Regions from separate parts of the Homo sapiens genome. Here all the other regions are linked to region 2. The links are contacts of gene promoters, found by promoter capture Hi-C in blood cells and fetal thymus (Javierre and others, 2016). All regions are on one chromosome and are shown on one strand. Each heading gives the region's core, a stretch centred on a gene start or on the middle of the fragment in contact. The rest is flanking DNA. Distances are from core to core; before and after follow the strand shown. Region 1 overlaps NPEPPS (aminopeptidase puromycin sensitive). Region 2 holds the start of GOSR2 (golgi SNAP receptor complex member 2). Region 3 overlaps KPNB1-DT (KPNB1 divergent transcript). Region 4 holds the start of MRPL10 (mitochondrial ribosomal protein L10).

Evidence for each region. Contacts are between HindIII fragments. The CHiCAGO score rates a contact against its expected background, and 5 or more counts as called.
Region 1: a contact is called between a fragment that was not itself captured here and the fragment with the promoter of GOSR2 in region 2, in 3 of 17 cell types (naive B cells, naive CD4 T cells and total B cells). The highest score is 9.4, in naive B cells.
Region 3: a fragment that was not itself captured here is called in contact with the fragment with the promoter of GOSR2 in region 2 in 1 of 17 cell types (naive B cells); the score reaches 6.0 in naive B cells.
Region 4: the fragment with the promoter of MRPL10 here is called in contact with the fragment with the promoter of GOSR2 in region 2 in 4 of 17 cell types (total CD4 T cells, total B cells, erythroblasts and 1 more); the score reaches 7.0 in total CD4 T cells.

The regions. Positions count from the first base shown.
Region 1 is chr17:47,620,590-47,623,984 of GRCh38, forward strand. It overlaps NPEPPS (aminopeptidase puromycin sensitive), which reads left to right. Exons shown (of 23, transcript NM_006310.4): 23 at 1,179-2,687. The coding sequence ends at 1,331. It overlaps KPNB1-DT (KPNB1 divergent transcript), which reads right to left. Exons shown (of 4, transcript NR_171700.1): 4 at 938-1,498. Among named protein-coding and RNA genes, the nearest start is that of KPNB1-DT, 27 kb to the right of the region's middle. The HindIII fragment of the contact is 6,563 bases long and covers 1-3,395 here.
Region 2 is chr17:46,921,842-46,925,323 of GRCh38, forward strand. GOSR2 (golgi SNAP receptor complex member 2) reads left to right here and starts at 1,319. Exons shown (of 6, transcript NM_004287.5): 1 at 1,319-1,380. The coding sequence starts at 1,352. It overlaps GOSR2-DT (GOSR2 divergent transcript), which reads right to left and starts at 1,030. Exons shown (of 3, transcript NR_186460.1): 1 at 970-1,030. It also overlaps a transcript of LRRC37A2 not described here. RefSeq lists an enhancer at 1,295-2,019. The HindIII fragment of the contact is 7,846 bases long and covers 890-3,482 here.
Region 3 is chr17:47,640,859-47,644,191 of GRCh38, forward strand. All of the region lies in intron 1 of KPNB1-DT (KPNB1 divergent transcript), which reads right to left. Among named protein-coding and RNA genes, the nearest start is that of KPNB1-DT, 6.9 kb to the right of the region's middle. The HindIII fragment of the contact is 5,052 bases long and covers 1-3,333 here.
Region 4 is chr17:47,829,366-47,832,823 of GRCh38, forward strand. It overlaps MRPL10 (mitochondrial ribosomal protein L10), which reads right to left and starts at 2,176. Exons shown (of 5, transcript NM_145255.4): 1 at 2,095-2,176. The coding sequence starts at 2,146. It overlaps LRRC46 (leucine rich repeat containing 46), which reads left to right and starts at 2,305. Exons shown (of 8, transcript NM_033413.4): 1 at 2,305-2,634; 2 at 2,735-2,840. The coding sequence starts at 2,625. RefSeq lists enhancers at 758-1,589, 1,590-2,419 and silencers at 1,882-1,941, 2,182-2,341. The HindIII fragment of the contact is 9,003 bases long and covers 1-3,458 here.

The DNA.
Region 1 (3,395 bases), core at 4-2,503, 700 kb after region 2:
ATGGAATGGAAAAAGACTTGAGGCCCTGAGAACTGAACCATGATTAGGAGCCTTGGAACAGTAGCAATTGTCATCTGTGTAAATAAGGTTATTGATTTCTAAAAGGTCTATGTTTAATCAGATGGATTAGTCATTCTGTCTTTCACACCTGTGGTGACTAATTCAAAGGAAAAGCCCTATCATTTTGCCAGCTGGTGTTTAAGAGTTGCTTTGTTTTCTGTGAAACCAGGTGTACTGCATTAGAAAAGTTTATTCAACTTTTAATCATTAAGCATTGTGATAAATTGTAAACTTAGAAATTGTTTGGTTTACTGTATTAAAAATGTTGGATTCCTGTAATTCCAGCATTTTGGGAGGCTGAGGTGGGAGGATTGCTTGAGTTCAAGAGTTCAAGACCAGTCTGGGCAACATGGTAGGACCCCATCTCTACAAAAAGGAAAAAACAATTTGGCCTGGGAGTGCACGCTTGTGGTCCCAGCTACCCAGGAAGTTAAGGTGGGAGGTTTACTTGAGCCCAGAAGGTTGAGGCTGTGATGAGCCATGATCGTTTCATTGCACTCTAGCCTGGGCAACAGAGTGAGACCCTGTCTCAAAAAAAAAAAAAAAAAAAAGACCATGGGGTGTTAAATTATTAGGGCATAGCAGCAATTTAAACTTCTTTGTATTATCATCCCTTACAAATTAATCTTTATTTGAAGCAGCCAAAATGTGTTGAATCCTTAAGTACTCTGTGCTAGGTATTTTGTCAAATGTTTATATGGATTGTCTCTTTAATCTTCTGGAGTAGATATTTTCTCATAGTTGAGAAAACTGAGACTTAGAGCAGTTAATTTTCTCACAGTCACAAGCTAGTACATGACTAAGCCTGGATTCAGGTTCCAAGTCTTCATTCCAAAGACTATATTTACCACTACACAATTAGCCTAAAAGAAAGGCAGTAGGTTCTGTCTCTTTATTAACTTTTGATTAGGTTGTTAAGCATATAATTAAGGGGAGAATTCCTATATGCAGGTCCAAGGAGTTGCTTGTTTTCTTTTAGCCTGAGGGTGGCAGTGGTAAATTCTCATGCCTGAAGATTATGCATCCTTCATATAGACCAGTGGGTATTTTTTCATAACCTGTAATATTAACTTCTTATTGCTAGTAATGATCCTGCATTCTGGGTTGTTTTATACCAGGCTTTCTTCGAGAGTCACCCAGCTCCTTCAGCTGAGCGTACCATCCAGCAGTGTTGTGAAAATATTCTGCTGAATGCTGCCTGGCTAAAGCGAGATGCTGAGAGCATCCACCAGTACCTCCTTCAGCGGAAGGCCTCACCACCCACAGTGTGAATCCTGAGGTGCCGCCATTGGCGGTTCTGCTGCTTCGCTGCAGGGATAAGGTGGAGCTACCGAACAGCTGATTCATATGCCAAGAATTTGGAGTCTTCTTTCAAACCAGTGGGGGTTGGACAATGAATGTAGTTAACTGGTTCCTGCTCACACTCCAGAATTAAATTCTATTGAAAAAGGAAAATCAGCAATTCAGCAAAAAATAAATAAAAAATAAAAATGTAAATATGATAGTAATAAAATAGAGCATAACGAAACTGTGAAACTTTCTGAAGCCTTGTCAGTGGTTAAAAGTATTTAACACTCTACTGTTAATGACAGATGTTCTGTTTTTATAACCTACCAAAAGGAAACTAGAGGCTTCTTGGTGAAGAGCATTTTTGTGAAGTGGGTTCTGCAAGGAGCCTATAAAGCCAAGGGTGGTGTCCATTTCTGGGAATGGTTAAACACAAAAGGCTGATAGCTGGTATCACATAGTTGGAGTCAGTGCATAATTCCAAGTGGCTTTTTTTTTTTTTGGCACGGGGACTGATCAGGAAGATATATTCCTGCATAACTCAATCTGAACCAAGGATTGTAGTTTAGTTTTCCTCCTTGCCTTCCCTTCTGTGTGACCGACCCCTTGGCCAAAAAAAAACAAAAAGCAAAAAACAAAAACCTACCCTGTTCTGGTTTTTTTCCTCCCTTTAGTTCCACCCCCAACCCCCATTCCCTGGTGTCCTTCTTAGAGATGAAGAAATAATAAGGAAACATCTTTCATAGCCACATTAAATAAGAGAAACTGATATACATTATTTTTTTCTTTTTAAAGATGACTTATAAGAACCCTGAAATTTATATAGGTGAGACAATAGAAATAAAAAGATCTTCAGCCAGGCCTTTCTGAAGGAGTTATTCTGCTAAAAATGGTCTTAGTTGTCTGAAAAGCCAGCTCTTGAACCTCTTCACAACAGTATCAACACTGGCTTCTCCCGGTTCATTTTATGCGTGCGAGAAGTCAGTGGTAACTGCTGCAGGGCTTAATACATTAGTGGTAACTGGTTTAAAAAACAAAGACTGTAAGCCTGTGTGTGCCACTGTTTGCTTCAACAGTATATCCTAATAAGCCTCACCTATTTAATCCAATGAGTTTTAAATCTAAATCTCATTCCCTTCTTCTTTCCCTACCTTTTTTTTCTTTTTTTCTTAAAAAAATATTTTGTGTTATTAACAGAAATTCATATTTGGTGTGGCTTAACGGTATTTCAGAAGGTCATCAGATTGTGAGACTGCTTCCTTGAAACATTTTTGTGCTATTGTTTTAAAAAAATAATTAAAAAACAGTTGGCGTTAATAAAAATGTCAATGTGAAACTGATGTCCTGATTCACTTTATTCTCTTTCTTTGATAAGAAACTAAAAACTTTCCTATCATTCAGTAGGCTTATGCAAAGTTATACTATCATAGGATTTTTCAAATTCAAAAAAAATCCAGTTCCTTAATTCCTAATTTATAGATCTTAACAGAAAAATCCTGAGATTCATTCTAAATCAGTTCTACATTCTCAAAACTCTCTCAGAGACTCTTATAGTCAGCATTCAGGAATGAACTTGAGACTTCCTCAGTCCCTAGTTTTGAGGCACCCTAGTTCAGGCACCATGCTCAGGGCTGCCCTTAGGCTCTCAAATGTTCTTAAGGCACCAGTGAAGCAGGGGCACCAAAAAGACTGAGAAAAATGCAGGTTTAATTGAAGAACTCAGAATTTTGCAATCAGAAATTCTGGAAACAGGTTATTTTACTTTCAGCATACATGTGATTTTTGTCTGTAATAATAGTTAAGTAGTTTGAATTACGTTCAGGGAGAGGTTATACTAGATGTCTTCCATTTGCCTTTCAGAACCCCTCTTCATCCCACTCTGGACCCCAGCGGGTGCTGACCCACATGGACTGCAGCATGAATGGCTCCCTTGCCCTCTGACTTCAGCTTCTGTTTATCCAATTATTAATATCCAAAGAAGATGAGAAGATATAAGGAAGAGATGGTCAGAGTACTCTGGCTTTCTCATTGCCAGGTCACATGGGTTG
Region 2 (3,482 bases), core at 69-2,568:
GGAGAGGATGTGGAGAAATAAGAACACTTTTACACTGTTGGTGGGACTGTTAACTGGTTCAACCATTGTGGAAGACAGTGTGGAGATTTCTCAGGGATCTAGAACTAGAAATACCATTTGACCCAGCCATCCCATTACTGGGTATATACCCAAAGGATTATAAATCATGCTGCTATAAAGACACATTTACATGTATGTTTATTGCAGCACTATTCACAATAGCAAAGACCTGGAACCAACCCAAATGTCCAACAATGACAGACTGGATTAAGAAAATGTGGCATATATACACCATGGAATACTATGCAGCCATAAAAAATGATGAGTTCATGTCCTTTGTAGGGACACGGATGAAGCTGGAAACCAACATTCTCAGCAAACTATCGCAAGGACAAAAAAACAAACATTACATGTTCTCACTCATAGGTGGGAACTGAACGATGAGAACACTTGGACACAGGAAGGGGGACATCACACTTCGGGGCCTGTTGTGGGGTGGGGAGAGGGGGAAGGGATAGCATTAGGAGATATACCTAATGTAAATGACGAGTTAATGGGTGCAGCACACCAACATGGCACATGTATACATATGTAACAACCCTGCACGTTGTGCACATGTACCCTAGAACTTAAAGTATAATAATAAAAAATAATAAAATAAAGAAAAAAAATCTATAACTACATTTCTTGTAATTTTGTCTTTTGAGAGTATACATATCTTATTTCCTTTCCCAGACCAGAACCTCTTTGAGGGCAGGAGGAACCCGGTTTTCCCTACTTTACACATGACACATAATAACCACTCATTCAATGTAGGTTTACTGGATGGATAAATAGGAATGGGGGGTAGATAGGCGGGAGAGTGAGTAGACAAATGCGAAACAGGAAAAGCTTGCGCCAGGAAAAACAGTGAAGAGCGAAATCTCCAGACCCCCGATTAAATGGTTTAAAGTGAAGCCAAGCAAGAACCTCCAGTCCTCTCTGCGGCAGAGAACAGCAGATGATAGCGGCTCGCCTTCAACTTTGCTCTGAGGACCTCTCGTTAGTATCCCGCGATTGTCCTTCCTAACGCCTGACTGAATCCTGAGGCTAGCCTTCAGCGAACATGTACACCGCCTTGCCCTTCACGTGAAGCCGAGCCTGTGACTACACTTATCCTTCCGTCGCCGGCCTCATTTCTCCTTCCCCTTCTCCGATCTCGCAACCACTGCTAGTAAGGCGCGCGTGCGGGCAGCCCTGGCCGGCAGGGGAGGGAGGGTCCTGCGACCGGAAGCCGGAAACCGGAAGGGGGGCTGTGAGGACGTGTTCCGAGGAAGCCAGAGCCGGAGCCGTGGCCTGCGGGGCCGGCGACATGGATCCCCTGTTCCAGCAAACGCACAAGTGAGGGCCGGTCGGGGAGCGGGCAGGGGCTAGACGAGGCGAGGCCAGGTGAGCCTGGCTTCTGGGGCTGAGGCCTCGGACGTCAGCCAGGGTAGAGGCCGAGTTTTTCCGCCAGGGCACTGCTGGGGATGCCTCCGAAGTGCTTAATCCTTGGCGGGACTCCCAGGTCAGCCACAGACAGTGGGTTCAGGCTGGGGCCTGGAGACGTGGGGCAGATGACTCCTGGGGTCTGCAAGTTCGTGACTACCTGCTGGGTAGACTGGGTGACGGGAAACTGGCACCTGCAGGTTATAAAACTTTGTCCAGCACTTGTCAACTCGGTGCTCCTGGTTGGTAGACCTCGAGAGGAGACACGGAGTAGGAGACACGGCCCCTGGCCGTAGGAGTGTACTGTTTAATTGGAGAGTCAGGGCACGTACGGGAAAGTATTTGTATTCTTATTCGATTTATACTAAAGACCACATTTTTATGGTACAAAGAAATTGCTGTCCACGTAGCATTCACTATTATTACTTGTTAATCGTATCTGGTTACAGGTTATCGCTAAGAAAATCAAATTGTAATTTAGTTTCTCATAACTTAAATTCCTTGGTAGTGTCCTTTATTCGCATCGTCCTGCACTTTCGGAATTGCTGAGATACGTAGTTGAGTATTAATGGGGCCATACTTACCCTATTTTTGGGGGCGGGGGGCAGAATTATGATTTTTACCCTGTTTTGGAGGGACGGAATTTTATGATTTTTATTTTTTATTGTAAAATATACACAACATAAGATTTACTGTTTTAACAATTTTTAAGTGTACAATTCAGTGACATTGAGTACATTCACAACTTACATCACTACGATCCATTTCCAGAACTTTTTCATCATCCCAGTGTGCCTGTTAATCAGTAGCACTTCATTTCTTCCTTCCAGAACACCTAGTAACCTCTGTTTTACTTCTCTCTATGAGTTTACCTATTCTAGATACTTAATATAAGTGGAGTCATACAGAATTTGTCCTTTTGTATCTGGCTTATTTCACTTAATGTTTTCAGGGTTCATCTATATTGTAGCCTGTTACCAGAATTTCATTCTGTTTTATGACGGAATAATATTCCGTTTTATGTGTCTACCACATTTTGTTATCCATTCATCTGTTGATGGACACTTGAGTTGTTTCCACCATTGGGCTGTTGAGAATAATACTGCTATGAACTCTGGTGTAGAAGTATCTGTTTTAGTTTCTCTTCTCAATTTTTTGAGGTATATACCTATCCTATTGAGAACTTTCAAACTTATGCTGTAGTTTTGTTGATTAAAACACTTAAAATCACACTCCCAAGGCCTGGAAATGAAATGCCCTGAAGCATGAGGAATAAGAGGGTGATGATCCTCTTTCTCTTTCATTTTCTAAGTTTATGGGTTTCTTTTATTTTGGCGATGAGGTGTTTCATTTGGACAGGCGAAAATACAGAACCTACTTTGTAATGACAGAATTTTCTTTTACACTGGGGAGCCCTATTCTCACATAAACGTTATAGGAAGGGACTTAAAACTAGTCTGTGAGTAATTTAGAGAAAGAATGAAACGAAATTATGTTCATGTTACTAAGAAAGGGCCTATCTTTCACAATAGCAGGGCACAATGGGCATAGTAGTGCCTTGAAGTTAATCTGTTATGTATGGTCTTATCTAGTTAATTTAGTTAAAGGATGTTGCCAAGAAGGCCATGACCCATTTTATATTCAAGAATAACTTTATTTAGAGAGTCTTAGACTACCTGTTTTCAGTGCAGCTAATCACAGAGAAAACTGCATGGCTCAGAAGAGGAATTCTAAATGGTACCCCAAACAAGGTGTGTGGAGTGTAGATGCTCTGTAGGCCTCCAACAATGCACCCTTGGACTCTAGCAGCTTGCCAGTTTTTTCTATTAAGGGCCAGATAGTAAATATTTTAGGCTCTGTGGGCTATACGGTCTCTGTAGTTACTACTCTGCTGTTATATTGGGAAAACAGCCATAGACAATATGTAAACTAATTGATGTACCTGTGTTCCAGTACAATTTTATTTATCAAAACAAGCAGTGGGCCAGCTTTGCCCCACAACTATTAGGCCCTCT
Region 3 (3,333 bases), core at 559-3,058, 720 kb after region 2:
AAAACAGTTATGTTTCAAATAAATATCAGCAACAACCCATATGCCCAATAACAAGGGACTGGTTACATTAGTTTATTGTTTATCCTCTTGATAGACTAGGATGCAGCCATTCAAACTTAGAAAATTTCAGCAACACAGCAACATGCTTTGCTATACTGTATCATGTTTTGTGGCAGAATAGGAAATTTTATTTATTTATTTTTATTTTTTATTTTTTTTGAGATGGAGTTTCACTCTTGTTGCCCAGGCTGGAAGCAATGGCGCAATCTTGGGTCACCACAACCTCCACCTCCCAGGTTCAAGCGATTTTTCTGCCTCAGCCTCCCAAGTAGCTGGGATTACAGGCATGCAACACCATGCCCAGCTAATTTTGTATTTTTAATAGAGTCGGGGTTTTTCCATGTTGGTCAGGATGGTCTTGAATTCCCGACCTCAGGTGATCCACCCGCCTCAGCCTCCCAAAGTGCTAGGATTACAGGCGTGAGCCACTGTGCCTGGCCAGGAAATTTTATTTTTACCATATGTTTGTCTATGCAAATTTTGTGGGCAGATGGATAACATGAGGCTTTTTGAAAGCACTGTCATGAGTTAATTCTTTTCTTTGTATTTAGAAGCAGTATACAGCAAAATGGTTGACAGCCCAGAATCTGTAGCCAGACTACCTGGGCTAGTAGTATTCAGATCCCAGGTGTCACTTCTCTCAGCTGGGTGACCTTAAGCAACTAACCTAAACTCTTTGAGCCTTAGTTTCCTTTTTCGTTTTTTGTCTTTTTTTTGAGAGGGAGTCTCGTTCTGTCGCCCAGGCTGGAGTGCAGTGGCGCGATCTTGGCTCACTGCAACCTCCACCTCCTTGGTTCAAGCAATTCTCCTGCCTCAGCCTCCCGAGTAGCTGGGATTACAGGTGTCCACCACCATGCCCGGCTAATTTTTTTGTATTTTCTCGTAGAGACGGGGTTTCATCGTCTTGGCCAGGCTGGTCTTGAACTCCTGACCTCATGATCCACCCGCCTCGCCGCCTCGGCCTCCCAAAGTGCTGGGATTACAGGCATGAGCCACCGCACCTGGCCAAGCCTTAGTTTCTTGACTGTAAAAAAGGCACAATAGGAGTACCTATTTTGGAGGGTTGCTGGGAGGATTAAATGAGTTACTATATGTAAAGAGCCTTGAACAATACAAAGAGTAAGTGTTTTAAAAACATCAGGCTGGGTGCAGTGGCTCATACCTATAATACTAGCACTTTGGGAGGTGGGAGGTTCACTTAAGCCCAGGAGTTTGAGACCAGCCCGGGCAACATGACAAAACCCCATTTCTACAAAAAATACCCCCCAACACACCCCAAAAATTAGCCAGGTGTGGTGGCACACACCTGTAGTCCCAGCTACTGAGGAGGCTGAGGTGGGAGGATCACTTAAGCGGGAAGTTCAAGGCTACAGTGGGATCACATCACTGCACTCCAGCCTGGGTGACAGAGCAAGATGCTGTCTCAAAAAAAAAAAAAAAAAAAAAAAAAGGGCCGTGTGCAGTGGCTCACGCCTGTAATCCCAGCACTTTGGGAGGCCGAGGCAGGTGGATCACCTGAGGTCAGGAGTTCGAGACCAGCCTGACCAACATGGAGAAACCGCGTCTCTACTAAAAACACAAAAAAATTAGCTGGGCATGGTGGCACATGCCTGTAATCTCAGCTACTCGGGAGGCTGAGGCAGAAGAACCGCTTGAACGCAGGAGGCGGAGGTTGCGGTGAGCCAAGATCGTGCCATTGCACTCCAGCCCGGGAAACAAGAGCGAAAGTCGGTCTCAAAAAAAAAAAAAAAAGCTATTATTTTCATGAAGCAATGATATTGTTTGGACAATAAAAATGCTTACTATGTGCTAGGCAGGAAACACAGGAATTTATATGACATGGCTTCTAACCTTGAGGAGCTATAAATGTGGTTCTCAATTGTGGGGAGGATTTAGCAGGGATTCACTCCCTTCCTAGGAGTTATTCTGTAACATCTGGAGACATTTTTGATTGTCCCACCATGACTTGGTGGGAGACGAGCCAGTGGAACTTAGTAGGCAGGGGCCAGAAATGCTGCTAAACATTCTGAAATGAACAGGACAGCTTCCCCAAAGGTAATTATGTGAGGGCAGGCACAGTGGCTCATGCCTATAATCCCAGCACTTTGGGAAACCGAAGCGGGTGGATCACTTGAGGCCAGGAGTTCGATACAAGCCTGGGCAACACAGCAAAACCCCGTCTCTACAAAAAATACAAAAATTAGCCATGTGTGGTGGTGCATGCCTGTAATCCCAGCTACTCAGGAGGTTACCCAGCTACTGGGAGGCAGAGGTCACAGTGAGCCAAGATCACGCCATGGCACTCCAGTCTGAACAAGAGTGAGACTCTGCTCTCTGCCACCACCGCCCCCCAACACCCACAAAAAAAAGAATTATGTTGTCCAAAATAATCAAGGTTGAGAAACCCTGAGTCATAGTCTAACTCAGGACAAAAGATACATGCATACATACAAATTGTACAAGGCAGACAATCAAAATAGAGCATTATGCAATTATACATATAAAAAAAAAAACAGAAAAGATAGAATAGCCCTGGGCCAGAGTACAGGATTCCCTGTGACACCTGGCCAGGAAGACAGGCCTCAGTGAACTTCCAGTTTTGGGACCCAGTGGACATACTTCAACGATTTGCAACTTTTAGCTTATTCTATCAGTAGGTACCTTTTTTAAAGGTTAAGTCAAAGTTAAAAGGCTTCACTTCTGCATTGCACTACCAGTGTGAAAATGTACTGGGGCCAGTTCACATATGTTTAATTCATATTATCTTTTCAATGCAACTTGATAAAGAGTTGAGTCAATTTAAAATTCTTAAAAGGGCGGAGCAAGGTGGCTCATGTCTATAATCCCAGCATCTTGGGAGGCAGAGGCAGGAGGATCACTTGAGTCCAGGAGTTTAAGACCTGTCTGGGCAACATAGGGAGACCCTGTCTCTACAAAAAAATGAACAAAATTAGCCAGGTGCAGTGGCTCACACCTGTAGTCCCAGCTTTTTGGGAGGCTAAGGGAGGAGGACTGTTTGAGCCCGGGAGGTTGAGGCTGCAGTGAGCCAAGATCATGCCATTGCATTTCAGCCTGGGCAACAGAGCAAGATCCAGTCTCAATAAATAAATAAATAAATAAAATCATTAAAAGTACATTTTTTGGAGTCAACAAGAAATGATACATAGGAATATTTTGGTTTCCATTTAAAATAGAACCATTTTGGGGAAAATATGCCAATATTTTAATGGTGGATATAATTTGAGGTTGCAGGTGGTTTCTGCGGAATTCCTT
Region 4 (3,458 bases), core at 926-3,425, 910 kb after region 2:
GTAAATATTTTAAGTTTGGGGCCCATGTAATCTGTCTCTAATGCTCAACTCTGCCAAAAGCAGCCACAGACAATATTTAAAGAGACAGCAGAAACTATGTACCAATAGAATTTTATAAAACACAGTGACTGGCCCTGCCATAATACGCCAACCCCTGGTCTAATCTAGTGGCTCTCAAGGTATGCCCCACCTCCACCCCAACCAGCAACATCAGCATCATTTGAGAGCTTGTTAGAAATTTTGCTGGGTGTGGTGGCTCACGCCTGTAATCCCAACACTTTGGGAGGCCAAGGTGGGCAGCTCACTTGAGGTCAGGAATTCAAGACCAACCTGGCCAACATGGTGAAACCCCGTCTCTAACTAAACTACAAAAATTAGCCAGGCGTGGTGGCACACACCTGTAGTCCCAGCTACTCAGGTGGCTGAGCCATGAGAATTGCTTGAACCCAAGAGGCAGAGGTTGCAGTGAGCCGAGATTGTGCCATTGCACTCCGGCACTCCGGCCTGGGTGACAGAGCAAGACTGTCTCAAAAAAAAAAAAAGAAAGAAAGAAAGAAAAATAAACATAAATTCTCAGGCCCTGCCTAGACCTACTGAATCAGCAATTCTGGGGTGGAGCCTAGCAAATAGTGTTTTTTGTTTGTTTTGTTTTGTAGAGACCAGGTTTCACTATGTTACCAAGACGGGTCACAAATAGTGTTCTAACAAGCCCTCCTGGTGATGCTGACGCATGCTAAAGTTTGAAAACCACCACTCTAACCGCTGCTCTGACACCCTGTCCTATGATTTGAAGAGGAGAAAAAAATGTTACACCATTCTCACAGCTCTCAGACAAGTTTCTCTTTCCTCCTCTCTTCCTGTTTACAGATAATGCTACAGAGCACCCCACAGAAAACAAGGGAGGCACTCAAAAGCCCTGAGACAAAGTGACCACTTAATCCTCAACACAAGGGCCAAGACTAGAACTTCCCACTTTCAGTCATTTCCAAGACTGGGATGTGACCTCAGAAAAAGGTCCAGATAGAAGGCGGCTCTAACAGTCAGAGAGTATGGATATTTGCTGGGGTAAGAGGTCTTATTGCCAGCAGCCACAAAACCTAACTGTTAAGACTGCAGGCAGGCTTTGGAATCAAATTAAACTGGATTTTTTTTTTTTTTGAGATGGAGTCTCGCTCTGTTGCCCAGGCTGGAGTGCAGCAATGCGATCTCGGCCCACTGCAACCTCTGCCTCCTGGGTGTAAGCGATTCTCACGCCTCAGCCTCCTGAGTAGCGGGGACTACAGGCACGCGCCACCACACCCGGCTCATTTTTGTATTTTTAGTAGAGTTGGGGTTTCGCCATGTTGGCCAAGCTGGTCTCAAATTCTTGACCTCAGGTGTTCCCTCCGCCTCAGCCTCCCAAAGTGCTGGGATTACAAGCGTGAGCCACCGCGCCCAGCCGAAACTGGATTTTAATCTCTCTTCCGCCAATTACTAGCTGTGACCTTGGCCACCCAACTGGTCTGAACTTCAGTTGCTGCGTCTGTAAAGAGGAGATGCGAATGTCTTTCTCACAGGGTGCTTTAGATTTAAATGATTTAAAAGATTTAAATGAGCTAACACATATAAAAATAGTTATCACAGTGCCTGGCCTATATTAAGTGCTCAAATCCATTCACTAAACAAATATCTACCGCACGCTTACTAACATCCAGCACCATGCCACCTGCTGGCTATGCTGAATGAACATGGTTCTGCCCTTGCGGAGTTTAATAGAGGAAACAAGCAACTAAACAAATGCAAAATTACAGATTGCGACGGGGCTAAGGAGTCAAGGGAAGACCTGAGGTGACATTTAGACTGACACATTAAGATGGAGACATAATGCAAAGGTCTGGGCGAGGAGTGGTCCAGGCAAAAGAAACGCTGGAGACAGACAACATCTGGACGTTGTTGCTGTGATTACCAGTCGAGTCACAAGGAACTGGACGGGGTAAGGAGGCCAGCGATCTAGCTGGGGTCAGAGATTATGGGAAGAATCAGTAGTAGAGGAGGGCAGATGAGGACTAGAGAGCGGCCGCAAGACACGCCGTGAGGACCTGGGCCACTCCTTACCCGCCTGGGGCAGGAGACCCCCTCGCAGCATCCCCGCCACGGCCGCAGCCATCTCCACCGGAAGAATGGACGGAAGCCGAGTGGAGACGGAAAGAGCTAAGGATTGTGGGGTAGCGAACCCCGGGGCCGGAAGCAGTGGGCGTACCCGCCGGCTGTAGCCGTAAGACGCATGCGCTAGGCCGGGCCAACGGAGCCCGCCTTTACCTCCCCACTCGGCGTCCAGTCTCTTAGCAACGACTCCGGCTTCCTAGGAACTGCTCCTTTCTCAACCATTCCTGCCCACAACACCCCAGCTTGCTGCCAGCAAAGCCCCTCCACACCCCTCAAACTCCAGACCCTTCACATCAATTTACTGTTTTCTTCGACCTCACCCCAGCAATTTTCTCTGAATCAACCCCCTTTCCTCCTCTCCTAAGTCTCTGAGTTTCTCTCTCCTCCTGCCATCCTGAGTTCTGCCATCCTTAGGGGCCGCCAAGACCTCTCTTTTCGTTCCTCTCCCGCCTCAGACCAGCAGCCTTTTATTTTAGATCATGTCTGGAGGTGAGTAGGGAGGTGGGACGGTGGGTAGAGCAGTTGGAAAACAGCGGGGTAAGGCCTCCAAGAGTGAGGAAGTGTCACAGTTGGACTCATCTTTTCACAGGGAAGTCAGCCCAGGGTCCAGAGGAAGGGGGCGTCTGCATCACTGAAGCCCTTATCACTAAGCGGAACTTGACTTTCCCTGAAGATGGGGAACTGTCAGAGAAGATGTGAGTGCATGGGGGAGAAAAGGGGTGCTAGAAGGCTGAAACACTCAGGATGACCAGGTCCCTGACGTGTACTGATTTGTCAACTGATCTTTGTTTCTCTCCTTACTCCACACATTCAATCAGTGGTAATGCCCAGCTGATTTTCCCTTCTTCAAAATAATTCCATTTCTTTTTCACCATCCTCACTCAACTGTCTTAGATAAGGCCGTGTTCACCTCTCTCCTACACACCCACCACTTTGGGAGGCTGAGGCAGGAGGATCACTTGAGCCCAGGAGTTTGAGACCAGCCTGGGCAATAGAGACAGAATCCTATCTCTAAAAAATAAAAATAAACTAGCTGAGCATGGTGGTGCACACCTGTAGTCCTAGGTGGCTGAGACAGGAGGATCACTTGAACCCAGGTACCTGTGGCTGCAGTAAGCTATGATCATGCCATTGCATGCCAGCCTGGGCAACAGGGTGAGACCCTATTTCTAAAACAAACAAAAAGTAAAGTATTTTTAATTACTTTTTTAGAGATGGGGTCTTGCTCTGTTGGCCAGACTGGTCTTGAACTCCTCAAACAATCCTCCCACTTCAGCCTCCTGAGTAGCCAAAGTGATCCTTTTAAATAACAA